Regions from separate parts of the Homo sapiens genome. Here region 1 is linked to region 2. Evidence: promoter capture Hi-C in 16 types of primary human blood cells and fetal thymus (Javierre and others, 2016). All regions are on one chromosome and are shown on one strand. The core of a region is centred on a gene start or on the middle of the fragment in contact, and the rest is flanking DNA. Distances in the headings are between cores, read along the strand shown. Region 1 overlaps AP1S3 (adaptor related protein complex 1 subunit sigma 3). Region 2 holds the start of MRPL44 (mitochondrial ribosomal protein L44).

Region 1 (5,901 bases), core at 825-3,324, 190 kb after region 2:
GGCCCCCGCCACCATGCCCGGCTCATTTTTATATTTTTATTAGAGATGGGGTTTCACCATGTTGGCCAGGCTAGTCTTGAACTCCTGACCTCGGGCGATCCGCCTGCCTTGGCCTCCCAACGTGCTGGGATTACAGGCATGAGCCACTGCCTCCAGCCTACATTTCCCTTTTTATATACCTGACAGTTCTCCAGCAACAAGAAATGACCTTGGAGTGTCCCTAACTGGCACCCGATTTGCTTGACCACCAAATTGCAATTCTCTTGAGACCAGTGCTTTGTGACTCATTTTATCCCCCCACCGCTTAACTTGTAACCAGCTGTGGGCCAGACTTGATAGCAAATGTTCCAAAAACATTTAATCCATTTCACAGTTTCAAGAAATAAATCATTGGATTTGGAAAATGTTTTCTTCTCATAATACCCTCTTCCCTATTCCCTTACTCACTGAAGTTTTTGTTAAGTGTTAGGATAATTTGCTTCCAGCAGAGTTTTTTTTTGTTCTTGTTGTTATTCTCTTTAATGGAATGAGCAGTATTTGCAATATTGAACACGTTTTATCAGATTTGTTGCAACACTTTTCATAAGGATGAACACTGGAAAGATTTCTGAAAGAATTTTTCCTCCCTCCCTTTTTTCCCCCTTGTAAATGATGTTGTTAAGACCTAAAATGTTGCTTCAGGGATTTCAGGTTGTTGGTCAGTATATAACAGCAATAAGACAACTAGACCATCTTTTCTTTCTCCTCTTGGTATACCAAGTTTATTTTCATTTTTTTAAGGAGAAATTTGCAAATGTATAATAACATGTTTTCAAACATATTATTTAATACTTTCTACTATTCAAATGAATTCTCACATTTTTGTACTTTCCTTTGAAATAAACTACAGACTTGGCCTTTTGCAAGAGCCTGAAGAAGTTTCCTTGAGGTCTGGGCATTCCCGTAACCTGCCTTCTCTTTCTCATTTCTGAACTCCGGCTTGACCTGTTGTATTTTCCTAGATTAAACCAACTGTGATAATGTGAATTGGGGCTGAATTTTGATCTCAATCTATCTGACCAAATTTCAGCCAGATATCTCAGGGCATTATGCTTCTCAAGAGAACTTGAGTGACCTTCACCAATGCTAAACCCAGTTAAAGTACAAAGAGAGTCAGAATGAATTCCCATTTCTCTAACATTAATTTCCCATTCTATTTTGGTATACCTTTGGAAGCTCTGTCTTTGTCATGTACCAAAATTTAATTTATTAAAAAATTCAATGAATCTTTCATTAAGCTAAGAGCAGCTAAGAGCAATTCAAGGCTATATGCCCAGTAGAAGTTCGGTTCTTGTTAATTAACAGTGATGAGCAAAGACTTCCAGTACTGATTCTCATTGACATAATCTCAGCAATAAAATATTTCTCTTTGATTTTCTTTTCCTCCCATATTAATACTAAAGCTTTCCTTGAATTCTGCCCTTATATAATGTTATCTAGGGGAAAACTTGGTACTGAGCTTCTCTTATAACACTGGAAAATATTATCTGCTGAAGACAGACGGATCAAAATCTCTGGCTACTAATTTAAGTTATGTATTTTTTTTTAGCACTTTTCAATTCCAAGGAGATTTACGAGGATTAACTAGTTAATCTTCCGATCTTCAGTAAGTAGCATTAACCTCAATTTATAGAGGCTCAGAGGAAATGCCTCAAAGTCTCATGCCAGATAAGAGTCTGAGGATTTAGATACCTGCCATATTTCTGCATTACAGACTACAGTGTGAATTTTTACTGGTGCCTCAGTGTGTGAGGATGTTGATCTCCCAGAGAGCTTTTGAATTTGATGTAGGGAGTTTTTTGTTTGTTTGTTTTTTGCTGTCAGGGGAAGAGCACTATGGGTCCCCCGGATGCTGGTGTAGGCTCACTCTCTCACCAATTCAAGGATTTGGGGCCTGTCATGTGTCTCCGTTTTGCAGATGAGAAAAATGACCCTCAAAAAGGTTAAGAGAAGTGTTTACTTTGCTAACCTTATAGGGCTGCTGGGAGGGGCAAAGAGATGGCGTGATAGCAATACTTAATAAACTATTAATTGCTATATAGTTGTACATTGCATTATAATTATTCTTGTTTTATTTTATTTATTTATTTTTTTGAGACGGAGTCTCGCTCTTGTTGCCCAGGCTGGAATGCAGTGGCGCGGTCTCGGCTCACTGCACCTTCCGCCTCCCGGGTTCAAGCGATTCTCCTACCTCAGCCTCCCTAGTAGCTGGGATTACAGGCATGTGCCACCATGCCTGGCTAATTTTTGTATTTTTGGTAGAGATGGGTTTTTGCCATGTTGGCCAGGCTGGTCTCAAACTCCTGGCCTCAGGTGATCCACCCACCTCGGCCTCCTAAAGTGTTGGGATTACAGGCGTGAGCCACTGTGCCCGGCCTATTCTTATTTTATATATAGCTTTATGGTAGTTATATAGTTTACTATTATTTGAAGCATTTGCTGCATGTAACTTGAAACTTTTTGTATTTACTTTAGAGCATCATTTAATAAGTACATGTGCTTCTTAGATTCTGTCCAAAAGGATTCAGTTGGTGAAATGCCAGAAATAATCTCACTGCACCATGAATTCTGCTGTAAGAAAAGAACCTTAAGCCAAATTACAGAAGAGCACAAGGCTAGGACATTGAAGATAAAGTTAAATGATAGTTTCTACCATTTGAAAGCTTTATTCAGAATCTAGATACACGAGAAAATAAATAAAGAGGCTCATGTTTATTAACATGGTGAGGGAGCAAGAAGCCGGGGTATTTGCATAATTAGAAGGAGTGGAATCACTTGAGCATCAAGTACATATTTTTGTTGTATTGGGACAACCTCAAGGTGGAATTTATTATTTTATTTTATTTTATTTTGTTTCTTTTTCCCGAGACAGAGTCTTACTCCGTTGCCCAGGTTGGGGTGCAGTGGTGCAGTCTTGGCTCACTGCAACCTCTGCTTCCTGGGTTCAAACGATTCTCCTGCCTCAGCCTCCCGAGTAGCTGGGATTACAGGCGTGTGCCACCATGCCTGGCTAATTTTTTGTATGTTTAGTAGAGACAGGGTCTCACCATGTTGCCCAGTCTGGTCTCGAACTCTTGACCTCAAATGATCAGCCCGCCTCAGCCCCCCCAAAGTGCTGGGATTACAGGCATAAGTAATTAGGCAGTAGCTTCAGAAACCTGACTTGGGACTGGGAACGGTGGCTCATGCCTGTAATCCCAGCACTTTGGGAGGCCAAGGTGGGGGGGATCACTTAAGGTCAGGAGTTCAAGACCAGCCTGGCCAACATGGTGAATCCCTGTCTCTACTAAAAATAAAAATAAAAAAATTAGCCAGGCATGGTGGCATATGCCTGTAATCGCAGCTACTTGGGAGGCTGAGGCGGTAGAATAGTTTGAACCCAGGAGGCAGGGGTTGCAGCAAGCTGAGATGATTCCACTGCACTCCAGCCTGGGTGACGGAGTAAGACTGTTTCCAAAAAAAAAAAAAAAAAAATGAACTGGTCTAAGGGTCTTCCTGGATATTTTCTCTCATTCTCAGATGGCAGTAGACTCAAAGAATAACTATAGGGTAGCACTTTTGTGTTGCTGTATGTGAAATAGTTGCTCAGTTGTAACATTCTCTGTAATGCCTATGGAACTTGCATATACATTTCTCTTCAGAGCTACAGATAGTAACTGTATATCAAGGGGTGTGTGTGTGTGTGTGTGTGTGTGTGTGTGTGTATTGTCTCTCTAACTCTGAATACCACCTTACCTTACCCTTATCCCTTGAAACTAGTACAGTAAATTAATTGCCCCATGGCTGCTGGAGGACCCAGACCTGGGGACGTGTCAAAGTGGGGTATAAGAAGTTCCTGGAGAATTTTCATTAGTATCTGTCAGGTTCACTTTGCAGGAGTTTAATTGCTGGTTTCTCCTAATGAGGCTCCTGTCTGTCTTGGATTCCTGGTCTACGCCTGCCTTGAACTCCGAGGTTCCTCAGCTTGCTACTATAACTCCTGACTTCTGCCTTTTCTGACCTCTGGTAACTGCTTTCTTCTCATACCTTCTTTCATGTACATGGATGTCTAATCTATTGTGATTTCTTTTTGTTTCTTTCTATTGTTTAAAACTGCAAAAATGATGCATATTTTTACATGTCCCTCTAAACATATACGGTTTTTAAAAATAGGATCGCGGCCGGGCGCGATGGCTCACGCCTGTAATCCCAGCACTTTGGGAGGCCGAGGCGGGTGGATCACGAGGTCAGGAGATCGAGACCATCCTGGCTAACACAGTGAAACCCCGTCTCTACTAAAAATACAAAAAATTAGCCGGGCGAGGTAGCGGGCGCCTGTAGTCCCAGCTACTCGGGAGGCTGAGGCAGGAGAATGGCGTGAACCCCGGGGGGCGGAGCCTTCAGTGAGCCGAGATCGCGCCACTGCACTCCAGCCTGGGCGACAGGGAGACTCCGTCTCAAAAAAAAAAAAAAAAAAAAAAAAAAATGGGATTGCATTCTGCATATTATTCTGCAACTTTCTTTTTTTTCCTCCTTACAAGTCTATCTTAGAGCTCTTGCCATATTTGTGCATGTAAATCTACCTTATTCTTTTCAGCTTCTACATAGCTGAAACATATACAACAGCAGGGAAAGGAGACAGTATCTGTGACACCGAAAGAATCATTCAAATTTCTAAGACAAATATTACAATAGAAAAAAACAAAGTCTTTAAGAAGCAATTTGTAGACAAGGCAAGAAATGGAAAGGGCCAGTGCATATCTAATAAGATGTACAGTCTCACTAATAAGCAGGGAAATGCAAGTTTAATTAATATTCATCCGAAAATTTAGAGACTATCCATTGCTGGAGATGGCATAAATAGGTAATCACTCCTACTGTTAGTGAAACTTTTAAGTTTTATAGACTACTTTGGAGGACCACATTTTAGTATTTATCAATTTTAAATATACAAATCCTTTGACCCAAAATTCCCCAAGGAATTTATTCCTACACTATACTCAAATTAGTATACAATACACAACAAAAATTATGGCAGCATCATTTAGAATAAAAACTGGAAACAGCCCAAAGTCTGCCCATATCCATAAAGGAACTGCTTAAATAAACTGTGATATACCCCCAGTATGCCATGGTAATTCTGTATGGAAGTTGGATTCATTTGGATCTGTTGACTTAAACCATGTTCCTTGTGAAGTTTGCTAGTTTATTGACCTAACTTGTAAGTATATGGAGGAATTTGCTAAAATATTGACATCTATTTCATGCAAAGTTATAGCATTCAGTACAACCATAGAATTGTATCTGGGATGCCATTAATCTCTAGCATATTAGAAACAAGGCCTATATTTATTTATTTTTATTTTTTGAGAAGGAGTCTTGCTCTGTCACCCAGGCTGGAGTGCAGTGGCATGATTTTGGCTCACTGCAACCTCTGCCTCCTGGGTTCAAGTGATTCTTCTGCCTCACCTTCCTGAGTAGCTGGGATTACAGTCGTGCACCATCATGCCTGGCTAATTTTTGTATTTTTAGTAAAGACAAGGTTTCACCATGTTGGCCAGGCTGGTCTTGAACTCTTGACCTCAAGTGATCTGCCTGCCTCAGCCTCCCAAAGTGCTGGGATTACAGACGTGAGCCACCATGCCCAGACAAGGCCTCTACTTAAACTTGCTCATTCATTTATCTTACAAGCATTTTTTGTGTCTTACAATGTGCCAGAAACCAGGGATATAAAGATAATGAAGACAAAGTTTCTGCCCTGAACTCACAGTACGGGGGAGTGATTAGTAATCAATAAGCAGAAACTAGTGCACAGAAGATGTAAGTGAGAACCCACAGGAAGTGATGTGAAATCTGAATGGGGAAAAGGGGATGTGGGGAATC
Region 2 (6,559 bases), core at 964-3,463:
TTGTTGGCGTTTGGCCTCCTCACTTTTAATATAGCAGCTATTAACAAATGCAGTTTTGAGAAGATCTAAGGAAAAGTTTTCCTGTAACCGATGTCCAAAAGCTTGTATTTCTGCATGGTAATCCCAGTTCGGCTTCTCTGAACTGAAAATGTAAAGACAGTAAGAGATGGTAAAGAGAACAACCTGTTACTGTGATATAAAAATTGTTCACTGTGTTGTAATGTTATTAATTATATAAAGGAAATGAAAGAAGGTTATATTTCTTTTTAATGCCAGGTTGATATTCTAAATGTTAAGACTAAAGTCAGATAAATACTGGCAGTCCTTTGCTATATTCTACATATATGACTGGATTAATTTTCCCTTTGATCCAATTGTCACATGAAATTGGTTCTTCAATATAAAAGACCAAGCCATTAGCCTAACTTTTAGGTTCCTTATTTCTGCTCTAACCATGATACTATGTTTTATACCTAAGTATGAAGCATAAATGTTAATTTCACAGATTCAAGCCATAAACACTAGTATGTTATATTTGCAGTCATCCCTCAATATCTGTAGGGGATTGGTTCCAAGGACTCTCCTGGATACTGAAATTCATGGATGCTCAAGTCTCTCATATAAATGGTGTAGTACAGGCACACTTCGTTTCACTGTACTTCGGTCTATTGTGCTTCACAGATTTATTGCATTTTATTTTTACAAACTGAAGGTCTGTAGCAATTCTGCATGTGCTCACTTTGTGTCTCTGTGTTACCATTTTTTAGCAATAAAGTATTTTAAATTAAGGTACATATATTGCTTTTTAGACACTACTACTGTACACTTAATAAACTACAGAATAGTATAAACATAACTTAGGTATACACTGGGAAACTAAAAAAGTCATGTGACTCGTTTTATTGTCGTGGTCTAGAACCAACCCTACAATATGTATGAGGTATACCTGTATCTGCATATAACCTATGCACATCCTCCTGTATACTTTAAGTCATCTCTGGATTACTTATACGTAACACAATATAAAACCCCTTTAAGAAACAAAGGGAAGCAAAGTATGAAAACCTAGGTTGAAAGTCGTAAGATATACATATAACATATACACCTATATAATCTGTCCAACCCATAAAGTTTCTTCCACCTTTGAGAGCCTAAAATACTTAATCTTATAATAAACAAGGGAATGGGAATTAAGAAGAGATTTTATTTTTTGCTATAATCTTCTCTGTTAGAAGACCGTTCCTACTGGTAGGAGTACAAAGTGGATCAACATTTTTTGGAGGGCAATGTTAAAGTACTAATAGCTTTCAAAATTTCATACTACACATGCGTCCCCTTTACGCGCTGTTACATAGGTTTTAATGGCAATAATATGGAGCTCATAGGCCCATATATACAGAGCCATAAAAAAGAGTGAGGTACATATCTTTGTAATACCATGACAACATGTCAAACACACATTATTAAAGAGAAAAAGCAAGATGAAGGAATTTAAATTATGTAAAGTATGATCTGGTTTGAAGCTATAAAAACCTGTGTCTCTCTCTGCCAAACCTGTTACCAGAACAGCATTAATTAGGGCAAAAATCTAAAGCTAACTTTTTTTCCTTTTACTCTAGACAGCAGAATTCAGGTTGTAGATTAATTTTTTTTCTCCTTAATTTACGATGCTGTGGGCTGCTTTCTTCCCGCTTATCGGAATTCTCAGGCATTACAAACGGGGACTACAACATCCAAGTCCACATAAGGAAGACCCTCCAGTTAGCCCCATTTCTCCCAATTTTCAGTAGCCAAAATCCTAAATGGTAGTTTCAAAACGTCGGGAACAGCCCGAAGCTCTACCGCCCGCGGCACAAATCCATTTTTTTTGCCTCAGGCCCCGCGCCCACAGCTCACGGGTGTCTCCATCGCAAACTTCCTAAGGCTTAACCCAGGGGCGCATCAGCCGCAGACACGACGCCGCGGGAAGAAGACCCAGTGTCTGCGACCGCCACCCTGAGACCTCTTCCCGAGGTGGCTCCTACCGGCGCACGGGCGGCGGCGGGCACCGCAGAAGGCGCTGCCGCTCTAACTCCTTCTGGAAGCGGAAGGCGGCGCGGAATCCCTTCTTCACTCCCCGAACCGGAGGGACCAGCTTGGGGGCGACTGGAGCCAGGAGGCAGCGATGTCCCTGCTGCAGCAATCTTACCAGCCCGGACGCCATTGCACGAGAGAAAACGATGGAAGACGGAACGAAAGTAGTCGGGCCAGTGTCCCCGTAACACACTTCCCCCGGAACCCGGAACGCGGAACGCGAAGAGAAGGCTGGGGCGGAGACAGCCCCCGGGGCGGGGCGACTGAGAGAGGGCAGGGGCGGAGACAGCCCCGGGGCGGGGTGATTGCGGCCGCCTTGAGGCTACGCTTGCGCTAGTTCTCTCCTCTCTTCGAGTTACTTTCCAATGATCCGGACTTGAGGGCGTTTGCGCCCAAAAGTTTCTGGGAGAAGTTGCTTCACCCTGTCACTCTCTTGTTCCTTCCTCTCTCGTTACAGCAAAACAAACAAAAATCTGTTTCGCTTTCAGGTTAAGGAAACATTTAAATCCTCAAAAAAAGAAAACATTTTTAATTTATATTTAGTGTTCTAGGCCACTACTGAGCAAGTATTTACCGAGCTTCTATTTTTGACCCAGCACGCCTCCAAAAGCCTTAGTTTTGGAAACCCTAGACTCAGAAATGTTGGCTTATCCAAAATTAAAATTTTTCTTTAAAAGCAATCTAATAGTACATATTTTTAAACATCCGGAAAATGACTGGAAAAAAACATAAAACGGTAATAGGGGAATTACAGTTTCTTCCTTCTTTATGTTAACACTCTTTAACAATGTAATTCTATTGCTTTCCTACCAAACTGTTAATACAGTACAATTTTTAAAAGAACATATTAAGTCACAAAGGGAGGCTTGTTTGAATTCCCAGTTTTGAGTTGCCTGCTGAACATCTAGACCCTCAAAGGGGCAATGCTTTCTGTGATCTCTTTGTTAAAGGCATCTGTGTCCCCAGCAGTCACCCAGATTGAACTCCTATGTCTTTGATTGTTTTTGTTTCGACAAACCCCCTCTTCGGTGCAGTTTCCACCAAGTGCTTTTTCCATTTATTTCCACTGCAGGTACCTGGTGGCTCTCCTCACCTCTTTCCGTGGTTAGTGTAATTGGCCTGGTACCTTCCTCCCTTCCCCAGACACAGCTCACCTACATTCATCTCTCTGAAACACAGACCACAAAGCATGTTATGACTTAGCCCGAGAATCTTCAGTGCCAGGATCATAGAACTCAATTTGGGTTTCTCAGCTTGACCATTTCAAAAGGGAGAATCTAAATGGTTCATCTCAGCTTATAAAAGGGTTCCCTTTGGGGAGGGAGAGAGCAAAAGAGGGGCTGAGCACACACCAAAAAACAAACTGATGGATTTCTGGTTGAAGGAAATTCTCCAAGAAGGGGTGAAAGGAGGTTACGATTGACCTTCTTGTTTCAATGTATGTAAAGTATTGAAAATTCATGGAACATCAATCCAATAAATGGATTAGGAGAAAATGCAGGGAACTGTCATTTCTGTAGAATTTCATTTATTAGGAAAAATAATCTAAGCCAGTTGTAGCACAATCATGTTAAGTTAAAATGAGGTGTCTCTGTGTTGAGAGTTTCTCAGTCATACAACAACGAGAGCATCATTTGCAGATTAAAAAAATGTAGGTCCTCAAAAGATTTCTTCTACTAATGCCCTTCATGGAACTTAGGAATTAACCAGTTTTTTAAAATCTGCTCATACATTTGTCTATTTATTCAATAAACACATAATAGGAGGAGGACTTGGTTCCAGGATCCAGGCTCAGAAAACTTTAAGGAAGAAAAAGGCCAATGTGTTTTTCAGCCCTCAAAAACCTGATTTTTCCTTTAACCTGCTGTTAGCCCTAATTTGATCAAAGCTCACAGATGTCAACAACTTTCGAGTTTTCATTGGGTTAAGGTCAGGTGGAAGGGTGGGGAAAAGTCACACTTAGGAAGAGGAGGTGAGGCGATTGAGGGTTCACTTTAACCCTTGGGGAACACAACCTTTTGTGTTTTGATGCCAGGGATATTGCTTATATATTCCTTCAATGATGGTGAAGGCAGCTGGAATACGGGGCACAGAAAGATGGATAACAAAGTTAGTAAGCTCTGCTATAGGACCTTCCTGAACAATCAAGCAATTCTGAACCACCTGGGATTACTCACCACTACTTCATAGATTAGCTAAGGAATAACTACCAAATAGTGGCCTTTAATCCAACTCACAAGGAAAATTACAGACAGAAATAATTACCATAGAATGAAAATTACTATAGTTAAAACTGTTCAAAATACAAAATTGGAGTTACTGATAAATATCGATATAGAATCAGTCTTCACCAAAGTTACATCTGTTCAACCTAGCTTTGGAAAATTTGACTTGATGGAAAATTTGACTTGATAGATCTAAAAGCTGCAACAGAAAACTCATGATAGTAAAACTGATTAGCAAAAAGCCTTAGTAAACCTGAGCAACAAATAACATCTTAGGAAATAAATGTGGAAAAAAATTCATGAAAATACATTAAGCAATAGAAACATGAAAATACAATTAGAAATAGGATACTTGTGCTGTATAGAAAATTGATCAAGAAATTTAATTGGTTTCATGGAGCTTATTCCAGAAAACATTTTCTCAAAAAAAATGCATCAATGTTAGTATAATTCTGTTATAAACACTTTAATTCATAATTATGGAAGCAAAACTTTTTTGGTGTGTTAGCGGCCAGCAAGATGGCTCTCAACAAGCCCCACCTCCTGGTACTTACACCCTTGTACATTCCCCTCTCACATTGTGCTGGGATTAGTCTGTGTAACCAATAGACCATGGATGTTTTTATCAATTCTGGGGTTAGGTAATAAAATACATCATAGCTTCCATTTTGGTCAGATACCTTGTATTTCTTGGATTAGTCTCCTGTCAGGAAGTCAGCTGCTATGTTATGATGTTGCCTAAGAAACTATGTGGAAAGGCTTATGTGATGAGTAGCTGAGGCCTCCCGCTAACAGCCATGTGAATGAATGAGCTGTCTTAGAATTGGATCCTCCACTCCCAGTCAGACTTTCAGATGACTGCCTACTGGCCAGCGCTTTGACTGCATCCTCATGAGAGACCCTCAGCCAGAATCACCCAGCTAAACTGCTCCCAAACTCCTGGCCCTCAGGAAATGTATGAGAAAATAAACGTTTGTTGCTTTATGCCACTAAGTTCTGGAGTAATTTGTTACATAGCAACAGATAATTAATACACATAGGGTCAAATCAATTGGATGAAAATGGCAAAATAAAAAATGCTCTATATTCATGAGACTTAGGGGATGGCCTCAGAGTGCTGGTTCTAGATGGAAGCGTGGATTTTGCTAGATGCAGAAGAGATGGAAAGGAGGATCAACATTCCATAACATGCACAAAGTCGTCAGGAATGATGATGACTTAGTAAATTCCGCTCCAAAAAGTGAAAGCTGCCTGACCCTTTAACCCCTGTAGGTATAGATCCCCTTTCCTGTCATTAAGGATACTTTTGAGAAACAAGTTCAGGAAATATCAGAGAAGATGTCAAGCACAGGGTTTCCACTTTACGTGTTCCTTGATGTTTCTGCTAAACTGAGCAATGTTTGGATCTGAGAGAGGGATACCTATTACAGGAAAAGGAATATTTTAAAGGGTTATAAAAATAAGTAAAAACTTGTAATGAGAGGGAAAGTAGAGATATTAGACCACTATGACTATAATATTGAAACTTCACACTTTTGTTTTGCTTTTTAAATAAAGCATTGTAAAAGTGGTTTGAGATTTTTGCAGTGTGATTATTATGCTGGCCTGCAGTGTAAAACTGGGGTAAAATCCAGAGAATGGGTTAAAAGAACTCCTGGCAAAACTACTGAACAAAATTACCAAGTCTTCTTTCCTCTCTGGGATGAAACTGTGTCTCCAGATCTTTTGGCAAGGCCCAAGGAGACGAAGCATGTCCAAAAGCAATAAATCACTGTAGACTTCTTTTTCAGTCTGTCCCACAGATTTAACATGTACTGAACAGATAAACATTGATTAGGTATACATTATAACAACTGCTGAAAGACACTGAAAAGTTTTATAAGTATTTCCTCTTGATTAGAGTTAACCAGATTATAGCCATTAAAAGTTATAAATTTAAAAATCTGGGCTGGCACGGTGGCTCATGCCTGTAATCCCAGCACTTTGGGAGGCCGAGGCAGGCGGATCATGAGGTCAGGAGTTCAAGACCAGCCTGGCCAACATGGTGAAACCTCATCTCTACTAAAAATACAAAAATTATCTGGACATGGTGGTGTGTGCCTGTAGTCCCAGCTACTCGAGAGGCTGAGACAGGAGAATTGCTTGAATCTGGGAGTTAGAGGTTGCAGTGAGCCAAGATAGCACCACTGCACTCGAGCCTGGGTGACAGAGCCAGACTCTGTCTCGGAAAAAAAAAAAAAAAAGAATCTGGATAATCTGGA

The links. The method cuts DNA at HindIII sites, captures the fragments that hold promoters and counts their contacts. A CHiCAGO score of 5 or more calls a contact.
Region 1: a contact is called between a fragment that was not itself captured here and the fragment with the promoter of MRPL44 in region 2, in 1 of 17 cell types (total B cells). The highest score is 7.0, in total B cells.

The regions. Positions count from the first base shown.
Region 1 is chr2:223,768,340-223,774,240 of GRCh38, reverse strand. All of the region lies in intron 3 of AP1S3 (adaptor related protein complex 1 subunit sigma 3), which reads left to right. Among named protein-coding and RNA genes, the nearest start is that of AP1S3, 66 kb to the left of the region's middle. The HindIII fragment of the contact is 1,260 bases long and covers 1,445-2,704 here.
Region 2 is chr2:223,953,117-223,959,675 of GRCh38, reverse strand. It overlaps MRPL44 (mitochondrial ribosomal protein L44), which reads right to left and starts at 2,213. Exons shown (of 4, transcript NM_022915.5): 1 at 2,025-2,213; 2 at 1-142. The coding sequence starts at 2,203. RefSeq lists an enhancer at 2,129-2,298 and a silencer at 2,369-2,438. The HindIII fragment of the contact is 10,687 bases long and covers 104-6,559 here.